3 separate regions of the Homo sapiens genome follow, and regions 2 and 3 are each linked to region 1. The links are contacts of gene promoters, found by promoter capture Hi-C in blood cells and fetal thymus (Javierre and others, 2016). All regions are on one chromosome and are shown on one strand. Each heading gives the region's core, a stretch centred on a gene start or on the middle of the fragment in contact. The rest is flanking DNA. Distances are from core to core; before and after follow the strand shown. Region 1 holds the start of SGO1-AS1 (SGO1 antisense RNA 1). Region 2 overlaps EFHB (EF-hand domain family member B). Region 3 overlaps EFHB (EF-hand domain family member B).

What was found. Contacts are between HindIII fragments. The CHiCAGO score rates a contact against its expected background, and 5 or more counts as called.
Region 2: a contact is called between a fragment that was not itself captured here and the fragment with the promoter of SGO1-AS1 in region 1, in 1 of 17 cell types (fetal thymus). The highest score is 5.4, in fetal thymus.
Region 3: a contact is called between a fragment that was not itself captured here and the fragment with the promoter of SGO1-AS1 in region 1, in 2 of 17 cell types (neutrophils and erythroblasts). The highest score is 6.2, in neutrophils.

The regions. Positions count from the first base shown.
Region 1 is chr3:20,173,002-20,175,535 of GRCh38, reverse strand. SGO1-AS1 (SGO1 antisense RNA 1) reads right to left here and starts at 1,250. Exons shown (of 4, transcript NR_132785.1): 1 at 1,011-1,250; 2 at 718-801. It overlaps SGO1 (shugoshin 1), which reads left to right. Exons shown (of 8, transcript NM_001199251.3): 6 at 481-1,287. The HindIII fragment of the contact is 5,926 bases long and covers 1-2,534 here.
Region 2 is chr3:19,894,134-19,899,100 of GRCh38, reverse strand. EFHB (EF-hand domain family member B) reads left to right here. Exons shown (of 13, transcript NM_144715.4): 8 at 256-323; 9 at 2,260-2,414. Among named protein-coding and RNA genes, the nearest start is that of EFHB, 38 kb to the left of the region's middle. The HindIII fragment of the contact is 416 bases long and covers 3,031-3,446 here.
Region 3 is chr3:19,875,438-19,880,061 of GRCh38, reverse strand. EFHB (EF-hand domain family member B) reads left to right here. Exons shown (of 13, transcript NM_144715.4): 13 at 258-590. The coding sequence ends at 431. Among named protein-coding and RNA genes, the nearest start is that of EFHB, 56 kb to the left of the region's middle. The HindIII fragment of the contact is 2,034 bases long and covers 1,351-3,384 here.

The DNA of each region.
Region 1 (2,534 bases), core at 1-2,500:
CGTAAGCCACCGTGCCTGGCCTATAATGTTTTTAAAGATTATAAAGATTGAATGTCCCTTATCCAAAATGCTTGGGACCAGAAGTGTTTTGGATTTATTTTTTAAATTTTGGAGTATTTACATTATATCAGTTCATCATCCCTAATTTGAAAATCTGAAATCCAAAACCCTCCAGTTAGCATTTCCTTGGAGCATCATGACTGCACTAAAAAAGTTTTGGATTTCAGATTTTCAGATTAGGGATACTGAACCTGTACAAGATTCTTTCACATGTCAGATATAAGCCATCAGTTGATCACTGACAAGTAAATAGATGGTAATATTTAAGTTCCCAGGTTTTTATTTACAGATTTTATAATGTAGGAAAACTACAGAATGACCTTTTGGTCATTCACTTTTTTAGTTTGAATTCTAAAGTTCTTGAAATTCAAATTTCCACAAAGTAAAACTACTTTTCTCATTTATTTTTTAAATTCTCAGATCAGATACCTACTATTCCTCAAGACACACTGGGAGTTGATTTTGATTCAGGTGAAGCTAAGTCTACTGATAATGTCTTACCTAGAACTGTATCTGTTCGTAGCAGTTTAAAGAAACATTGTAACAGTATATGTCAGTTTGATAGCTTGGATGATTTTGAAACCAGTCATTTGGCAGGGAAGTCTTTTGAATTCGAAAGAGTTGGATTTTTAGACCCACTAGTAAACATGCACATACCTGAAAATGTACAACACAATGCTTGTCAATGGAGCAAGGACCAAGTTAACTTATCACCAAAGCTGATTCAGCCAGGAACGTTTACTAAAACAAAAGAAGACATTTTAGAATCTAAATCTGAACAAACTAAAAGTAAGCAAAGAGATACACAAGAAAGAAAAAGAGAAGAGAAAAGAAAAGCTAACAGGAGAAAATCAAAACGTATGTCAAAATATAAAGAGAATAAAAGCGAAAATAAAAAAACTGTTCCCCAAAAAAAAATGCACAAATCTGTCAGTTCCAATGATGCTTACAATTTTAATTTGGAAGAGGGTGTTCATCTTACTCCTTTCCGACAAAAAGTGAGCAATGACTCTAATAGAGAAGAAAACAACGAGTCTGAAGTGAGCCTCTGTGAATCAAGTGGTTCAGGAGATGATTCCGATGACCTCTATTTGCCCACTTGCAAGTACATTCAGAATCCCACGAGCAATTCAGATAGACCAGTCACCAGGCCTCTAGCTAAAAGAGCACTGAAATACACAGATGAAAAAGAGACGGAGGGTTCTAAGCCAACAAAAACTCCTACCAGTAAGTGATCTACTTGTTTACCTGTATTTTTAATGTTCGTGATAAATGATCACTCCTGATGCTTATATACTATACTTACCATCTGTTTCTCTGGTGGAGGTTGGAGACTTACCATCTGTCTCTCTTTGGTGGAAGTTATGGTCTGATTAAACAGTGGGGGGCTGGGTGTGGAAATCACAGTTGTATTGCTCTGACCTAATTCAGAGATTGCTTGTTATGGAGACAGAATTTTTATTTTCAGTAAATTAGGACTCCCAAGGGGACAGAGGGACTTTTTTGTAGACTTAGGTTGAATTGAAGTAGCTTTTATACACTTAACTGAAGTATCCCCTTGAAAGTGAAATCAAATTTGAATCCAGTGACTTGTTATTTTAATGGCCTTGTTTTATATTAAATTTGACAGGAACCGTGATTTAAAATAATCTTCTAGTTAGTGAAGATTTCCTCAATTGATAGGCTTAGTATTCTTTTGTACGACATCTCTAAAAACTGGCTCAGAAAATATTTTATTAGATCAAAAGTAGGCATAGTTCAAATGTTCGTAATACAACCTACACCTGTCCACAAAGATTCTCATTTGGCAATTTTAGTTAATACAAGTAAAACTAACATTTATAGTCAAGTTGTATCATTTTCAAAATATTGTCACATCATTTTATTTGATCCTCAGAACAATTCTGTGAAGTATAGGTGTTATGATGCTTATTTTGTTTGTAAGGAGATTAAAACCTTAAAAACCAAACCAACTTTCTAAATCGGCCAGTTAGTCAGTGGTAGCAGGCAAGTATCTTTTTTAAAAATATGCTGTAAGCCGGGCGGGTTGGCTCACGCCTGTAATCCCAGCACTTTGGGAGGCTGAGGTGGGCGGATCACCTGAGGTCAGGAGTCCAAGACCAGCCTGGCCAACATGGTGAAACCCCATCTCTACTAAAAATACAAAAAAATGAGCCAGGCCTGGTGGTATGTGCCGGTAATCCCAGCTACTCGGGAGGCTGAGGCAGGAGAAAAAGAATTGCTTGTACCCAGGAAACAGAGGTTGCAGTGAGCCGAGACCATGCCATTGCGCTCCAGCCTAGGCAACAAGAGCGAAACTCAGTCTCAAAAAAAAAAAAAGCAAAAATGCTATAATGATGTTAGAATAAATCAAACATGATTGTCAAAGTGTTGATAATTATTGGACCTGGGTAACTCAGAGTTTATTATACTGTTATTGCCATCTTTGTGTACATTTAAAAATGTCCAGAAAA
Region 2 (4,967 bases), core at 1,989-4,488, 280 kb after region 1:
TTTTGCTTTGAATGTGTTCTGTGTGTTCTGCTTTTCTTTGTAATTCTGGGCTCCTGAAAGAGGGTGAAAACATTCAGTCATTGTTAATGCAAGTGGAAGATCAGACAAAAGATCTATTGGAGAACTTTTGTTTGATCTTCATAGTTTGGTTATGAGATAAAATATGGGCTACTAAGAACATATGGCAAACATATTTTAAATTCCAGAGATGCCATGTGGTGGGTATTTTAACTAAGGATTTGTTTTCTTTGATAGCATTGCAGAAACAATGAATGTTCCCCCAGACTGCACATTTGGAGCTTGTCTCCGTCCTGAGGAATATGGTAAATATACACACTTTCTCCGTAAAAAACCCCAAACAAACAGCAACAAAATCCCCACAAAGTTATGCAGTTAAGCTCACCATCTCCTTATTTCAAAGCTTCTAATTTTAAAGACTTAAAATGTTGCATTAACATTAATGAGAAAAGTGTATAACACAGAAGTAAATTTTTTTTCATATTATGTTTGAAATAGGTACAGTTGGAAGCCCTTGTAATAAGTACTGTAAGTGTAGTTAAGGCTTTGAATTTTATTTAGGAAAAATAAATATGGCCTATATTAAACAAGCCAAAGTGAAGTGGGGCAGCTTTTTAATTAATTTGGATATTGTCCTAGTCCTAACGTCTCAAAGTGTGGTCTGCAGACTGCCAGTATTGGCATCCCCTGGGAGCTCCTTAGAAATGCAGAATCTCAGGCCCCATCCCAGAACTATTGAATCAGAAACTGCATTTTAACTATATTTCCAGGTGAATTTTAAGCACATTCAAATATGAGAAAGCACTGTACTCTACAACCACATAATTAAGAACCACTCTTTTCCTACCAGCCAGCCAGCTAGCCAGTAAGTTGATCAATCAATCAATACATAAAGTAGCAGAAGAAACTTACTTGGATTTTGTCTTTATTTCTAGCCAATCTAAACAGCAGATATCCAAAGGGAAAAATATGCTACAGCTTATCAGGATTGGGCTGTATATCAGTGGTTTTCAAAACATGGGCTGCAGACTACCTGCATTAAAATCATCCAGGGAGTTTATTAAATCTGCACCTTCCTGGGACCCATGCCCTAGATATTCTGATTCAGTAGGTTCTTATATACACTAACGTTTAAGAACCACTATGAAAAATGTTTTGGCTAAAGTCAACTCATTGACAGGTAGAATAAATATTTATTGAGCTTATGCAAGACAGTGGTTTGGAGCATCATTAATTACTACATTAGGAAATTGTATTTGGGTTCTGTTTTTACACAAACTACTAATGTTTGATGGATGCCTATCCATCTTAGAGGCTTTAATATCTTTTGAAGAGGGTAAGGGATGATTAGGAAACCATCAATTAGCTTGAAAAAGAAGTAGGTAATCATGGTAAATTCTGCCTGTTTGAGGGCAAGCTTCATGCTGGTGGGTGCTCTGTCTTGCTGTCTGTTGGATCCTCAGGGTCCAGCACATAGGACATCTTTCATCAATATTTATAGCATGAATTGATGAATTAAAAAAGGAAGAGAAAGCTGAGAGTCCTGGCAGAAAGATGGGAGATGTGTGTACGCCAGGGAAAATGAAGAGAGGCAGGAGGTCTCCTCTGGCGATATCCACCGAGCCGCCACATCTGGAGCAGCATGGTCAACTCTAGTTGGGGTGTGGGTCAGGACTCTTAGTTAATGGAGCCGTGAAGGGAGGCAGGCCTCTAGTGCTGGTGGTGGCATGAGTGGAAGCAAGGCTGAGAAATGGGAAGTTGGTATGCAGACTGACGGCCAACTGGAAACTCACATAGGAGAGGGTAGATAATTTAATTTTTACAAGGCTCTCCCAGTTTAGTCAGTTCCAAGGCACACTGAGTGGTCCCCACCTGGAATCAGCCCTAGCTTTCAGATCCTCAGCACTGTAGACAAATGGCCAAGAGGTAGTCAAGCAAGAACTTCACTGTCCAGGGAAAAGACTTGACAGTTGAGTGCGGTTGGTGATGTCCACACAAAATTCATTCTTTTAGATTTTCTTCTTGAGCAGAGAGGTAACATAAACCAGGAATATTAATTTTTATCAATTAATTTATGTACTTTAGAGTACATAAGGATTTTCTGACATGCTGCATAATCATGTCAGAGTTAGATGTTTCTTTCATTCACAGAGGTTGCTAGATCTCTCACTTTTTTTAAAAGATAGAAATAATATAGAAAGACTTTAAATTTATGTAAAAAGTTTTTTCTCTCTTCAATAGGAGTTGGTGATCTCATCCATAATAGACTTCCGGATGAATATCTTCGAGGCAAGGATAGACAGCGAGCCCTGATTGCAGCAGTTCGGCATCACCTGAAGAAAGTTAATTACCAAAAGTTTGACACTTTGCTGGCAGCCTTCAGGCACTATGACAAGGCCAGTAATGGGGGAGAGCTTTTTGGTAATGCATGGGCTTACAGATCCCAGCAGTTTGGTGTAGATCAGGGGTCAGCAAACTATAGCCTGTGGGCCAAATCCAGCCCACTGTTTGTTTGTGTCAGTAAAGTTTTACTGGAACACAATCACGCCTGTGTTGTTTTCAGTATTGTCTGTGGCTGCTTTTGCAGTATGAATACAGAGTTAGGTAGTAGCAACAAAAACTGTATGGCCTTCAAAACCTAAAATATTTACTATTTGCCCCTTAACAGAAGACATTTGCTGACCCCTTTTGTAGATTATTGGTTGTCAAAGTGTGGTTCCACTACCACCATCACTATCACTTGGGAACTTGTTAGAAATGCACATTACAAGGCCCATTTCAGAAAATACTGAGTCAGGAACTCTGGGGTGGGACCCAGCAATTTTTGCAAGTGCTCTAGTGATTCTGATGCACATTCAAGTTTGAGAACCACTGTTATGGATTATTAAACTGCAGTGTGCTGGGAGCAAGGGGCAATGGGTAGCACTGGGGATCCCTGGGGAAGACTTGACAATCTACACCTAAATCTGAATATGTACACAGAGTACCTGCATTCTAGGTCCAAGTCAAGCTTAGAATGTCTTTTCCCTGGGGAGCAGGGTGTGGTTTTAGTTTTGAGAGTGTAAGATCATTCAATGTTCAAGCTACTCTAAATTTTATTCTTTGAATAAAATCAGATCAATCTAGGGCTACATAATTGCCTTGCTTCATTTTAGGCCATCACAGAATTGCTTTTACCGAGCTGCACTGCCTTTAGCTTATGCTGAGGAGCACTATAAGAAACTGCCATTGAAACGTGGCATATTTTTTGTTAGTATGCCCATGAGGCTTTTATTTTTGTCAGATGCATCTTCCTTATAAGAAACTCAGTCTTGACAAAGGAAATAATTGCACTTCATCTAAGTATCTGATGACTGGTTTTTATCTCATGGATAGCATGTATTTTGTATTGATTATGCACACCTTTTTACTTTGGTTACCAGGAAGCTTGGAGCCAACTCAATAAATAATGGTAGTGACATGAATAAGAGAACCTGCCATAATACGTAGTGCCCTGCTTTTAAGAATTCTTCATTTTAAATGTAATTAAAGGAAAGATGATCATCTTAATAGCTGTTGATTATCTAAGTAAACCACCAGGCATATTCCTTTTTTTTTTTTTTGAGACCGAGTCTCGCTCTGTCGCCCAGGCTGGAGTGCAGTGGCGCCATCTCGGCTCACTGCAAGCTCCGCCTCCCGGGTTCACGCCATTCTCCTGCCTCAGCCTCCCGAGTAGTGGGACTACAGGTGCCCGCCACCAGGCCCGACTAATTTTTTTGTACTTTTAGTACAGACGGGGTTTCACCGTGTTAGCCAGGATGGTCTCGATCTCCTGACCTCGTGACCCACCCGCCTCGGCCTCCCAAAGTGCTGGGATTACGGGCTTGAGCCACCGCGCCTGGCCCAAGCATATTCCTTATGATAAATTAAGCAGGGAGGAAATTACTGAGAATTATTTAATGCTGATATGCCTTACATATACATATATGCTTATATATAAATATATGTTGATATATAAATATAAATTATGTATATATTTATATATTATTTATAATATATAGATATAAACATTTATATATAAAAACTATATATTTTTATATATACATATATATATTTTTTGAGACAAAGTCTTGCTCTTGTCCCCCAGGCTGGAGTGCAATGGCGTGATCTTGGCTCACTGCAACCTCCGCCTCCTAGGTTCAAGCGATTCTCCTGCCTCAGCCTCCCAAGTAGCTGGGATTACAGGCACCTGCCACCACACCCTAATTTTCGTATTTTTAGTAGAGACGGGGTTTCACCATGTTGGCCAGGCTGGTCTTGAACTCCTGACCTCAGGTCATCCACCTGCCTCGGCCTCCCAGTGTTGGGATTACAGGTATGAACCACCGCGCCTGGCCTTGATATACCTTTTAATAGTTAACTCAATATGCACAATGTAGCATTCAGTCACCGTAAGGAGCTTTTTTTCTGAGAGGGTAATAAGATGTGGGTCTAGTACAGCTGTAGGTTAATTTTTGATTATTTAAATCTTATATTATTGGATGCCACATTTAATTTAATGGAAAAACAAAACACAAACACAACAGAGCAAATAAACTATGATTTTCTAAATGAATCTTCTTGGCTTATGAAATTAATTCTGCTATTTATTGAGTAATCATAATACATCAAGCATTATTCCAGATAATGTGTAGACATTCCATTTAGGGAATGGAAAATCTAGAGGGAGAGTTACACATTGGGTAGCAGTAGTGTGCTAGAGTTGGCTTGAGAGAGCATACTGTTAAATTTGCAGCAAGCTTACAAGCCAGTTGACATCACAATGGTAGCTAGAAATTACCATGATGAGAGTATGAACACCATGGAAAGCAGCACCTGCTACAAATCAGGGCTTTTTTCCACCACACTGCCAAAAAGTCAGTTGTTGAACATATGTAACACAACACTGAAGTAGAGTGAGGCCCAAGTAC
Region 3 (4,624 bases), core at 1,118-3,617, 300 kb after region 1:
TATATATTGGCTAGTGTATTTGAACACCCTCATATTATAATAACAAAATTATTCCTGAGCTGACAGTATTAGAATTTTGATATTTTCTCATTATGTATATATACAAGCACATGCACACACACAAATACATACACACACATACTTTTCACACATACTTTTTTGGAAAAATATCCATAGTCTTAGATGTTATAAAGATATTTTTCATTACAAGTTTTAAAACATATAAATCATGGTCTATTTTAAATGCCTTTTTCTAGATTGCAGAGATATTGTGTAACATTGGTGTCAAACTGTCTGATGAAGAATTTGAAAATGTATGGAATCTTGCATCAAAAAAGCATCACAGAGGAGAAGTTTGTGTTGAGAACATCAGAAATGTTCTAGATGAGCTACGGCATGCAGACCGGATCAAGTGTAAAACACTCATGTGATATTTTTGGACTTCATTCATTCAAGCAAAAGAATTATTAACTCTGTGTTTATCTAAAATGTTGAATCCATTCTGGTTTTAGATATTATGTTAGAGTTCACAGTGGTAAGACTCATATGCCTGTATGTGTTGCTAATAAATTAGATTTTGGATTTTAAAATTTATTGTTTTCCATAAAGCACCTAAGAGCTTGACAAGTGATTGAAGAGTTAACATTCAGCCTCAGCAAAGACAGTTCAGAATGATATTAGAAGTTTTGTAGGCCTAAGAATTCCATATATTTTAGTTGGCCGTCTGAATTCATAGTGTGATTTGTGATGCCAAGTTTAATTTTCTTTGTTGGTTAAGCCAATTTGAACTGCAATTTCTGTCACAGGTGATCAAAATGTAGTAACACACCAAGAGTAAGGAGATTCATGTTTATGTAGTGGACTAAAAGCTAGATCTTGTGCATGGAACTACAGGTGAATTTTTTTTTTTTTTGAGATGGAGTCTCACTCTGTCACCCAGACTGGAGTGCAGTGGCGCAGTGTTGGCTCACTGCAACCTCTGCCTCCTGGGTTGAAGCGATTCTCCTGCCTCAGCCTCCTGAGTAGCTGGGACTACAGGCGCGTGCCACCATGTCAGGCTAATTTTTCGTAGAGACGGAGTTTCACCATATTAGCCAGGCTGGTCTCGATCTACTGACCTTGTGATCTGCCTGCCTCAGCCTCCCAAAGTGCTGGGATTACAGGTGTGAGCCACCGCGCCCGCTACAGGTGAAAAATTTTAAGAAAAAAAAAAAGCGATCTTGACTTCCTTACATTTCCTTTTCTATTAAAAAATTACTTGTCTTTTAAAAATTAATTCTTTAAAAGAACAAATGAAGAATACAGCTAGAGGAGCTCTTTCCATATATTAAAAACCACAAATTGAAAGCTTTTAAGACAGCAAAAACAAGACAAAAGAAAACATTATAAGGTTTGGGGAATAAGCAATCTTTTCCAAATGATCTCTAAACTCATGCTTTCTTAACACGTTTGGCTTAAGTCATCAAACTATGGTCAAGCAGGCATGGGGCCGTTGCCCTTAAGGGAGGAGATAAGCCATCTTTCAGGATGGTCCTGATTCACTTTCCTAAATCTACTCTAAAAGTACCAATTGAGGTTCCTTTGTGTATCCTCCTCCTACCACTGGTGGGTTCTTTATATTTTGTCCCTGGTAGCCTATAAAATGGGTCAGAACTGTACGTTTTCAATGTCAAGGAAACTCCATTGACAAATAAAAAAGTTATCATTTTATTCTATTTCTCATTCCAACTTATGCCCAGTCATGTGGTCCAACATAGCGTATAAGGGATTCTACAATGAGAATTCTACAATGAGAATAAATAATAGCATTGAGATACTCTGGTAATAAAATGCCAACATAAAGATGATAAACATGAAGATGATAAAATTTGAATAAACTTTCTAGTGTCAAATTCACAGGAATAAATAATACCCAAATGTTAAATTTCCTTGCCAGTTAAAATCTGAAGATAAAATTCAAAGTAATTCAAGACTGAAATCAAATTATCTAGTGTCCAGTGAGTTAAAAATCCAAGGAAATTCTCTCTCCCTTTTTTCTGCTTCTGCCTAGTTTCAGCCAAGGTGTTTGGAAGACCTGGGGAGAGGTGTGTTTCCTTTAAGCAGCTGCGTCTTGAGCTGCTTCTCACTGGGAAGACCATAGGTCCATCCTGGCTCTTAAACTCATAGTCACTTAACTGAAGTGACTCAGCGGGCTGAGCTTCAATTTTAGGAAGTCAAAGATGTAACAAGGCATACAAGATTTCATAGCTCCCACCAAATTTAGGAAATAAGCCAATTCTTAGCTCTGAGAGCAGTTATCTCAGAGCAATTTTCTCAGTGAAAATTGTGTTTCTACAACCCAGTATCTGTATGTCACCGAAGCCATAGAAGAAATTATGTGATATCTGAGTGAAGGAGAGAAATGGAGAAAACCTTGATTTGAAACTTACCAGGGTGCTCATATGTGTACATTAGCTAGAATTTATGACCTATGGACTTAAACTAATTTGGAAGAAATGAAGTTAATTTTGATACTATGCATTTACTATATCTGGCCTAAAAATCTACTTTATGTATACTGTCTTCTCTTATTGGAGCACGACATTTGAAACATTATTTCCTTCATGCAATTTAGAAATTTTGGACGGAAGCCCAGTCTTTCCTTTTTTTTTTGAGATGGAGTCTCTGTCACCCTGGCTGGAGTGCAGAGGCACGATCTCAGCTCACTGGAACCTCTGCCTCCCAGGTTCAAGCGATTCTTGTGCTTCAGCCTCCCAAGTAGCTGGGATTACAGGTGTGTGCCACCATGGCAGGCTAATTTTTTGTATTTTTCGTAGATATGGGGTTTCACCATATTGGCCAGGTTGGTCTTGAACTCCTGACCTCAGGTGATCCATCGCTTTGGCCTCCCAAAGTGGTGGGATTACAGGTGTGAACCACTGTGCCTGGCTGGTCATTACTTTTTATTATGAAGTATCTGTCTTCCCTACTCAGCCTATTCTATACTTTTCATTATTCTTTGAGGTGCTAGGGACTGAATAGAGTGCAGGTGCTATTTAGCAGTCTATTGTCAATATTCTTTTCAAGTGCACCCCTTCAATTCTGTGCCTAGGAATTGCTTCCATTGCTTCTTGTTTCGGAATTGCCTAGGATTCAGAAACATACCTCCTGTTGAAGTTTCTTCTATGAGTTAAACCAGCTAGAATCAAAGTGGCACAGGTGATGGAAGTGATCCTTGAGCCACATGAATTTAAGTTTAGCTGATTGAGGGGTTTGCTCCCTGCCCTGAATGCAGGATGGCTTTGGGGCAAGGGACCTAGTGCTGCTTATCTGGGCAAACCCTGTTTAAAAGTTTGAGCCTTTTAATAAAAATTAGGGTAGCTGAACTGACATCATTTAAAAGCTTCACCTCTTGTTGTCTAGAAGATATGGATACATGGGGGCAACCCCCTTTGGGTCCCCTCCCTTTGTATGGGAGCTCTGTTTTCACTCTATTTTACTTTATTAAATCTTGCAACTGCACTCTTCTGGTCCATGTTTGTTACGGCTCCAGCTAAGCTTTCGCTCGCCGTCTACCACTGCTGTTTGCCACTGTCGCAGACCCGCCGCTGACTCCCATCCTGCTGCTGATTCCCATCCCTCTGAATCTGGCAGGGTGTCCGCTGTGCTCCTGAACCAGCCAGACTCCCATTGCCACTCCCGATCATGCTAAAGGGTTGCCATTGTTCCTGCATGGCTAAGTGCCTGGTTTCGTCCTAATCGAGCTGAACACTAGTCACTGGGTTCCACGGTTCTCTTCCGTGACCCACGGCTTCTAATAGAGCTATAACACTCACCGCATGGCCCAAGATTCCATTCGTTGGAATCTGTGAGGCCAAGAACCCCAGGTCAGAGAATACGAGGCTTGCCACCATCTTGGAAGCAGCTCGCCACCATCTTGGGAGCTCTGTGAGCAAGGACCCCGGTAACATTTTGGTGACCACGAAGGGACATCCAAAGTGGTGAGTAATATTGGACCACTTTCGCTTGCTATTCTGTTCTATCCTTCCTTAGAACTGGAGGAAAATACCGGGCACTTGTCGGCCAGTTAAAAACAATTAGAGTGGCCACCGGACTTAAGACTCAGGTGTGAGGCTATCTGTGGAAGGGCTTTCTAACAACCCCCAACCCTTCTACTGGGGACGTTGGTCTGCCCGGAGCCAGCTTCCACTTTCAATTTTCTTGGGGAAGCCGAGGGCCAACTAGAGGCAGAAAGCTGTTGTCCCGAACTCCCGGCAGTAGCCGGTTGAGATCATGGCACAGCCAGAAGTCTCTACTCAGCAGTGCGCCCCTACCTTTCCTTCTGAACCATGCCTCCTGGGTCCTGACTGGGACTTTCTTGAAAGTGTAGCCCCAAAATTCTCCTTACCTCTGAATCTACTTCCTCTGATCCCTGCCTCCTAGGTACTAATGGTTCAGACTTTCATTTCCTCTAGCAAGTTGTATCTCCAAAGGGATCTAAGGAGGCGCTACGCTGCGTCCTTAGGCACCTAGGCTATAACCCAGGGAGTCTTATCCCTGGTATCCCTTCCAATTTAGGTACACAGCTCTCTACATGGGCAGTTACGTGGGACCCGTTCCCCACCACCCTTGCCAGGGCCCCAAG